Linked DNA regions of Homo sapiens: region 1 is linked to region 2. The links are contacts of gene promoters, found by promoter capture Hi-C in blood cells and fetal thymus (Javierre and others, 2016). All regions are on one chromosome and are shown on one strand. Each heading gives the region's core, a stretch centred on a gene start or on the middle of the fragment in contact. The rest is flanking DNA. Distances are from core to core; before and after follow the strand shown. Region 1 holds the start of GALK1 (galactokinase 1). Region 2 holds the start of LLGL2 (LLGL scribble cell polarity complex component 2).

Evidence for each region. Contacts are between HindIII fragments. The CHiCAGO score rates a contact against its expected background, and 5 or more counts as called.
Region 1: a contact is called between the fragment with the promoter of GALK1 here and the fragment with the promoter of LLGL2 in region 2, in 1 of 17 cell types (endothelial precursors). The highest score is 5.2, in endothelial precursors.

Annotation. Positions count from the first base shown.
Region 1 is chr17:75,763,044-75,767,175 of GRCh38, reverse strand. GALK1 (galactokinase 1) reads left to right here and starts at 1,984. Exons shown (of 8, transcript NM_000154.2): 1 at 1,984-2,204; 2 at 3,090-3,279; 3 at 3,737-3,856; 4 at 4,027-4,132. The coding sequence starts at 2,040. RefSeq lists silencers at 1,820-2,009, 2,240-2,389 and enhancers at 2,500-2,729, 2,760-2,969. The HindIII fragment of the contact is 22,999 bases long and covers 1-4,132 here.
Region 2 is chr17:75,524,444-75,528,832 of GRCh38, reverse strand. It overlaps LLGL2 (LLGL scribble cell polarity complex component 2), which reads right to left and starts at 3,136. Exons shown (of 26, transcript NM_001031803.2): 1 at 3,008-3,136. TSEN54 (tRNA splicing endonuclease subunit 54) reads right to left here. Exons shown (of 11, transcript NM_207346.3): 11 at 4,098-4,389. RefSeq lists silencers at 3,430-3,614, 2,931-3,650, 3,671-3,770. The HindIII fragment of the contact is 9,748 bases long and covers 1,482-4,389 here.

The sequences.
Region 1 (4,132 bases), core at 735-3,234, 240 kb before region 2:
TTATTTTTCTGTTGTCACTTGTGCTTTTGATGTCATATCTAAAAAACCATTGCCTGGCCGCATTGGCTCACACCTGTATCCCAGCACTTTGGGAGGCTGAGGCAGGCAAATCACTTGAGGTCAGGAGTTCAAGAGCAGCCTGGCCAACATGGTGAAACCCTGCTTTTACAAAAATTATCCAGGCATGGTGGAGGGTGCCTGTAATCCCAGTTACTGGGGAGGCTGAGGCAGGAGAATCGCTTGAACCTGGGAGGCGGAGGTTGCAGTGAGCCAAGATCGCGCCACTGCACTCCAGCCTGGGTAACAGAGCAAGATCTGTCTAAAATAAATAAATACGTAAATAAATAAAAATAAAAAAACATGACTAGGTGTGGTGGCTAACGCCTGTAATCCCAGCACTTTGGGAGGCCAAGGTGGGTGGATCACCTGAGGTCAGGAGTTTGAGACCAGCCTGGCTAACCTGGTGAAACCCCAGTCTCCACTAAAAATACAAAAAATTAGCCGGGCATGGTGGCACGTGCCTGTAATCCCAGCTACTCCGGAGGCTGAGGCAGGAGAATCGCTTGAACCCGGGAGGCAGAGGTTGCAGTAAGCTGAGATCACGCCATTGCACTCCAGCTTGGACAACGAGAGCGAAACTCCGTCTCAAAAACAGAAACCAAATAAACATTTCCTAACCAATGTCACAAAACTGTACCCCTATGTTTTCTTCTAAGAGTTTTCAGAATTGCCCTTGGAATGCAGTTCCCCACTCTTTGGGCACACCCCTGAGCAGGCCCCAAGCTAAATCCCTGGCCATAACTCCCCACACTACTCCCACCCTAACCCCAAGCAAGCTGCTTACATTTCAGTCTTTCAGTTTCAAGGTTCCATGTAGGGTGGGCAGCTGTGGACAGGTATCAAGGCAGCAGTTGGGGCCGGCCAGCAGGTTTAGGATGCAGGATAGCAAGAGAAGAGTGCCTGACTGGGAACAAGGCCACGCCTCTGAGACAAGGGCTTCTGGGCTGAAGTAGTGCCTGCTGGGGCCAACAGCACAACCTACCTGGACAGCTGTGGCAGGTCCTTAAGGGAGGGGCTGGGCCCACTGCTGGCCACCGCCACCCTAGTCCAATTCTCCATTGCTAGGAGCTGTTGCGTATTACCTAGAAAAGGAGCTTGTAAAATTGACTCTCTGGTCACCACCAAACTTGTCTTTTTTTTTTTTGAGACAGAGTTTTGCTCTTGTTGCCCAGGCTGGAGTGCAATGGTGTGATCTCAGCTCACCGAAACCTCCGCCTCCCAGGTTCAAGTGATTCTCCTGCCTCAGCCTCCCGAGTAGCTGGGATTACAGGCATGAGCCACCATGCCCAGCTAATTTTGTATTTTTTAGTAGAGATGGGGTTTCTCCATGTTGGTCAGGCTGGTCTCCAACTCCCGACCTCAGGTGATCTGCACACCTCGGCCTCCCAAAGTGCTGGGATTACAGGCGTGAGCCACTGCGCCCGGCCCAAACTTGTCTGTCTTTATCTCTACTTACAGTGAGTGTCAGGTCACCCTCTTGGAGACCGGTGATCAGAGGCTGATGACCTCTCACAGCTGCTGGCCCTGGGGACCTAGGGGATCCCTTTGGGAATCCCAGGTCAACCGGGTGCCAGCTCCATTGCTCTGGCTGTGTGGGTGGTGGTGGGTGGTGAGGCACATAGAAAGTCACCAGCGCCAGGGAAGGGCAGCTCAGAAATCCTGGTCATGCCAAGTGCCACTCAGGGCTATTCTCACTCTAGTGAGTGCTCATTGGTTCTTCCCGAAGTCCAGAGGGAAGGACACCATCGGGGGCGCTGTATCCCACCCGGCACCATTAGCCCCTGCCACCCACCACCCAGCAGCTGGATTCCCACGGGAGTTGCGGGTGGGGGCGGAACCGGCTGAGGTCTGGGGGCGGGGCGTCCGGGCGCGGGGCGGGGCTGGCGGGAATGTGCGCACCCCCGCGCGGGGCCCCGCCCGAGCATCCCGCGCCGACGGGGCTGTGCCGGAGCAGCTGTGCAGAGCTGCAGGCGCGCGTCATGGCTGCTTTGAGACAGCCCCAGGTCGCGGAGCTGCTGGCCGAGGCCCGGCGAGCCTTCCGGGAGGAGTTCGGGGCCGAGCCCGAGCTGGCCGTGTCAGCGCCGGGCCGCGTCAACCTCATCGGGGAACACACGGACTACAACCAGGGCCTGGTGCTGCCTATGGTGAGGGGCTGCACGGGGAGCCCCTAGCCCGCCGCCGCCTGTCCCGGCCGCCGAGGAGGGCGGGCCTCGGGGACGCTGGGGGCGAGTTCTTCCCGCGGGAGATGTGGGGCGGGCAGCTGCGCCTGGAGCACCGGTGCACGGAAGAGTCCCCGGGACAGGCTGTTCCCCACGTTGGAAGGGAGGAAGCGAGGAAGTGGCCGGGAGAGGGTGCGCGGCCGCCTCTTGGCTCAAGCCCGCCCTCTGGGGGCTGGGGCTCCTCGCCTTCAACCTGGGAGCATGTTCCCCTTAAACTGTGAGGCCCTGTGTGCCACGCAGAAGGGGACACTCCGCGCCTCCGGCCACCGTGGGGCCCCAACCGCAGACCTGGGCGAACGTAGCCTTCTGGCCCAGCCCGTTCAATTTACAGAGGAGGAAACTGAGGCCTAGAGAGGCCCAGTGAACTGCTGGAGGTCACACAGCAGGTTCTTGGCGGGGCTGCGACTTGGGAGTGAGGACTCCCAGCTTTCAGCGGGGGGCGCTTTCCGCCCCATCTGCAGCTTGGGGAGTGCACAGGTACAGGATGTCCAGAGCCACCCCAAAATGTAAAGGCTTTGGAGCTCCAGTGATCTGTTTTCCCTTTGGGCTAGCTCTCCCCCTTGCCCCACAGCTCAGGGCAGAGTCCAGGTCTGTGCTCCAGCTGCAGCCGCCCCGCCCCTGAAGACCTAAGGGGGCAGGGCTCAAGCCCCCAAGGTCAGCTGGCCCTCAGGATCTTCCCTGCGACGCTGAACCTGGAGGTTCAGAACCTGATGACTGTGGAGGCATCAGAACCTCGGCTGGAGGCAGTGTCATTGGAGAGGCTTACTCCAGCTGGCGGAAGCCTCACGTACTGCTTGTCTCTCCTGCCAGGCTCTGGAGCTCATGACGGTGCTGGTGGGCAGCCCCCGCAAGGATGGGCTGGTGTCTCTCCTCACCACCTCTGAGGGTGCCGATGAGCCCCAGCGGCTGCAGTTTCCACTGCCCACAGCCCAGCGCTCGCTGGAGCCTGGGACTCCTCGGTGGGCCAACTATGTCAAGGGAGTGATTCAGTACTACCCAGGTATGGGGCCCAGGCCTGAGCCAAGTCCTCACTGATACTAGGAGTGCCACCTCACAGCCACAGAGCCCATTCATTTGTCTGATACACTGTGGGGAAGGCTTGTAGAGTGGAGCATCCCATTGTACAGATGAGGAAACTGATGCCCCCAGAAGGTCGGGAACTTGCCCTGGGTTTCCCGTGACCTGATTGGAGGAGCCAGGATTTGAACCCCAGCCTTTTTTCCCTCCAGAGCCCTAAACCAGGAGGACAATTAGAAGTGTCCCAGCAACCTCAGAGGGTGGGAAAATGGAGGGCAGTGGGTCCCTTGGCCCAGCAGGTTGGTGGCTTCTGACAATTGAGACACACACCCTAGAAACAGCTGCTAGGCCGTTGCTGCCCTTCCCGCCAGGACACCTGCCCTTCCTGTGCCATCCTCCCAGGCAGCCCCTCTTACCATCACCTGTTCTTTCCCCTGCAGCTGCCCCCCTCCCTGGCTTCAGTGCAGTGGTGGTCAGCTCAGTGCCCCTGGGGGGTGGCCTGTCCAGCTCAGCATCCTTGGAAGTGGCCACGTACACCTTCCTCCAGCAGCTCTGTCCAGGTACCAGCTAGGCCCCAGCCCTGACCCAGCCCTCCTTCCCTGAGGTCTCCAGGTGGTCCCAGCTTCTACTATGCCTTATGGAGGGGGTGGCAGGGACTCTCCCTGGAGTGTCATTGAAGCCACTGCTGCTTCCACCAGCCCTAGCCTCCCCACCTCACCCTGTACTGCAGACTCGGGCACAATAGCTGCCCGCGCCCAGGTGTGTCAGCAGGCCGAGCACAGCTTCGCAGGGATGCCCTGTGGCATCATGGACCAGTTCATCTCACTTATGGGACA
Region 2 (4,389 bases), core at 1,887-4,386:
TTTCCCACTATGGGCTCCTATTGCCTTTTCTATTTTTTAAATGAACAGCGATCACCTGGGATTATGGGCCATTTTTTGTTTGTTTGTTTGTTTTGAGATGGAGTTTTGCTCTTGTTGCTCAGGCTGGAGTGCAATGGCGTGATCTTGGCTCACCGCAACCTCCACCTCCCAGGTTCAAGCGATTCTCCTGCTTCAGCCTCCTGAGTAGCTGGGATTACAGGCATGTGCCACCATGGCCAGCTGATTTTATATGTTTAATAGAGACAGGGTATCTCCATGTTGGTGAGGCTGCTCTCAAACTCCTGACCTCAGGCGATCGGCCCAACTTGGCCTCCCAAAGTGCTGAGATTACAGGTGTAAGCCACCACGCCTGGCCTTTTTTTCTTTTAATGTTGCGGTATATTAAAAAGTTATTTAAGGCCGGGCGCGGTGGCTTACGCCTGTAATCCCAGCACTTTGGGAGGCTGAGAGGGGCAGATCACGAGGTCAGGAGATCGAGACCATCTTGGCTAACACAGTGAAACCCCATCTCTACTAAAAATACAAAAAATTAGCCGGGCGTGATGGCAGGCGCCTGTGGTCCCAGCTACTCGGGAGGCCGAGGCAGGAGAATGGCGTGAACCCAGGAGGAGGAGCTTGCAGTGAGCCGAGATCTCGCCACTGCACTCCAGCCTGGGTGACAGAGCGAGACTCTGTCTCAAAATAAATAAATAAATAAATAAAAATAATAAAAAGTTATTTATACTAACGGGTCTGGCGTGGCAGTTCATGCCTGTAATCCTAACACTTTGGGAGGCAGGAGGATCACTTGAGCCCAGGAGTTCAAGACTAGCCTGGGCAACATGGCAAAACCCCCTTTCTAAAAAAAAAATAGAAAATTAGCTGTGCATGGTGCTGCGCGCTTGTAGTCCCAGCTACTCAGAAGGCTGAGGTGGGAGGATCACTTGAGCCTGGGAGGTCGAGTCTGCAGTGAGCCTCCATCTCCCAGTGATTGCACCACTGCACTCCAGCCTGGGTGACAGAGCAAGACTCTGCCTCAAAAAAAGAAAAAAAAAAAGTTACTAACAGCTGGGCACAGTGGCTTACACCTGTAATCCCAACGCTTTGGGAGGCTGAAGTGTGAGGGTCACTTGAGTCCAGGAGTTTGAGACCAGCCTGGGCAACATATGGTGAGATCCCATCTCTACAAATTAAAAAACATATTATTAAAGAAAAAAAGAATTTGGTCAACTTAGTTTAAAAAAAAGAAAAAAAAAGAGAAAAAAGTTACTTTTTTCTATTTTATTTCTTATTTATGAATGTAGTGTCATTTTAATATAATTAAAAGCATATTAATCTGACACCAAAGGGGAAACTCCCTTGCCTCAAGGAAGAATGGGGATGCCAAATGACCCTGGACCCCGGAAACCCTGTCCAGGAGCCCCCACAAAGATGGGCCCAGTCTAACTTCAGAGGAAAGGAGTGAACTCTGATTAGAAGCTTAAGAGCTGAGTTTGAGTTCTGTCTGCCACAGCTAGCACTGTGGGAAGATCGCCTAAGAAAACTAAACCCCAAATCCCAGTTCATAAAATAAAGCTGAGACATCTCTCGCACAGTTCTCCTTGTGCCTCTGCTCACACAGACCCAGACAGTTTTCCTCAAATGCCACTTTTTTTTTTTTTTTTTGAGACAGGGTCTCACTCTGTCCCCAGGCTGGAGTGTGGTGGCGCCATCATGACTCACTGCAACCTCCACCTCCTGGGCTCAGGCAATCCTCCCACCTCAGGCTCCTGAGTAGCTGGGACTACAGGTGCACGCCACCATGCCTGGCTAACTTTTTTTATTATTTGCAGAGACGAGGTCTCACTATGTTGCCCAGGCTGGTCTCAAACTCCTGGGCTCAGGCGATCCTCCTGCCTTGGCTTCCCAAAGTGCTGGGATTACAGCTGTGAGCCAATGCACCCAGCCTCAACTGCCACTTCTGACCTTGGCTTCCCCCGGGCTGGGCCACAGCTCTTCTGTGGCAGCTCTGCTCTTCCTACCAGCGTTTCCTTGTCACCTTGACACACCCATTCCCTCCCTGCCCGCTCCCTGCTCAGAATCCTCTCTGTAGCCCCTTCAAGAGAACTCAAGGTTCTCTTGAACTACAAACTCCAGCAGGGGGTCCCTGGAGCCCAGGTTAAGGCTGCCGGCAGTCGCATACGGATCCCCAGGGGAAGGGGCGCCCTCCTCACTCAAAGCTCACCTGTTCAGGTGAGAGCCTCAAAGCGCCACTCTACAGCTCCCCTGGTTAGGTCAGTTCTCCCCACAGCCAAGGCCCAGCGTGTCCACCAATCGTCCAGCCGGAACAAACTAAGACACACTTTCTTTGGCAAGATAGAATTTTCCACTTCTCGCCAAATCCCACAGCGCAAACCCCGCCCGTCAGCATGGAGGGCAGACTGGGTCTCCGCACTGTCATGTGAAGGTGTCCAAAGCCGCCCCAGCTGGAGAAAGGCCGGAGACCGAAGTCCCTCCCGCGGGCTTCCTGCGTCCGGGGATTAGGAGGCACAAAGGGCCGGCAGGGACACAGCCCAGATGGCAGGGGCAGGGGCTAAGCCGCCGGGGCACCGCGCTCCGGCCGCCGCCCGTGGGGAGGGGGTCACCGCAGACGCGCGTCGCCAACCCCGCTGGCCTGGCGCCTGCACGTGGGCCCGGGGACTCCGTCTCTGCCCGCGGTGCCCCCCGCACCCAGCCGGCCGGGGCACCTGTTCTCCTGCTCTCCTAAGCCAACATTATTGTGCAAACCCAAGCCCAAGTTTCAGTCATCGCGCAGATCAGGCAGAGAAGTTTCCCGCAGAACTTTCTACAGGTGTCTCTCTTCCAGGCCAGCACAGCGACGCGGACAGGGGCGAGGCGCGCGGACCTGGGCGCAGCCCTCCCGCCCTGGCCCGACAGCCCAGGGGTCCTGGGCCTCCCTGGCCTCCCCGCCCCAGGTGGAAGCCCCGAGGGGGCGGGCCCGGCTGGGCGAGTCCGGCACGCATCTCACCTGGAACCCCGGGCCAGCCCCCGCCCGAGGCCTCGGCGTCCCTCGGCGCCCGCCGCCGGCCCCGCTCGCTCCGCCGCGCCTGCCCACGGGCTGCTGGGCGGCCGTCTCCTTCCTGCTCACCTCCGGCGCGGCGAGCCTGGGGCGGAGCCGCGCTATTTACATAAAGGGCGAGCCTGCCGGGGCCCAGCGCCCCGCCCCCGGCCCGCCCCCCAGCTCGGCGCCGCAGGGGCGGGGGCACCCTCGGGGGTGGGGGCTGCGCTCCTGCCAATCCGCGGCCCCGGGAAGCGCGGGGCGGGGCCTCGCGAACGGCCTCGGGGTTCCGCAGGCCCGCCCCGGCCTCACCTGCGCGCACCTGGACGCAGAACGGCGCGCCGCGCCCAGTGTCCCGCCGCCTCCCGCAAGCGGAAATAGTTCCCGGAACGCCTGCGGTCCCGGGCCGCCTCCCAGACTCCAGGGGAGCCGTCCCTCCAACTCCCGGGAGCTGCCGAGGGAGGGGCGGATCCGGGCCAGCTCCTCTGCCAGAGCCCAGCCCAGAGAGGGTGACCGGGGGACGCAGGGCCGGGTTTCCAGCCCCACGAGAGGGATGGTGTAGGGACCGGGGCGTCGCGGCGAGACGCCTTTCCTCGGGGGGGGGTGCGGGGGGGCGCCCACCTCCTCCGTGTCGGCCGGAGGGTCTGCAACAGCGGGTGGAATTTTTAGCACAAGCGAGGGAGGAGGTTGGAGCGACGAGAGGCGGGAGCGGAAAGGGCGCGGAGGCCGGGGCTGCAGCGCGCTCCACCGCCCAGCTGCAGGTGGCGCCTCTCGCCACCCGCACCCCGCTGCGCCCAGGGAAGGGCCGATGGCGCGCCGTCCTCCCTCCTCCCTTCGGGAAGCCTGCGACGTCCCATCCCCTCCGACGCAGGCCCGGGAAAGGCTCAAAAGGTTCGAGGTCGCGTTCCTGCTATCCCGCGGGCTTCTCTCACTCTTAGATCCCGCACCAGAGGAAGCGGATCTCCTTGAGTGGGCAAAGCAGGGGTGAGGGGCTGGGGGCAGTTCCACTGACAACGGGACGGGGGCGAGAGGGGTTTACCCAGTACATACAGAAACAGCAGAAAAGAAATCTATTTTTAATGGCTTTGGCTTTATAGCACGAAGCAGGCACCCTCTCGTTAAAGGCACACAGTCCTCTCTTCTGCCCCACCTCCTGGGTCCTTAAAATCGAGTCCTGAGTTCCAGAGGGGTCACTGCAAGGCAGCAGGGAAGGGAGAGGGTCACAGTTTCACTCTGTGAGTATCAGACACCCAGGGCCAAGGCCCAGACTGGCCTCTGAAGCTACAGGTTAGAGTCTGGGTACAGGAGGCAGCCGAGATGGTCCCTGAGAACAGACAGTCCCGGTCCCCCGG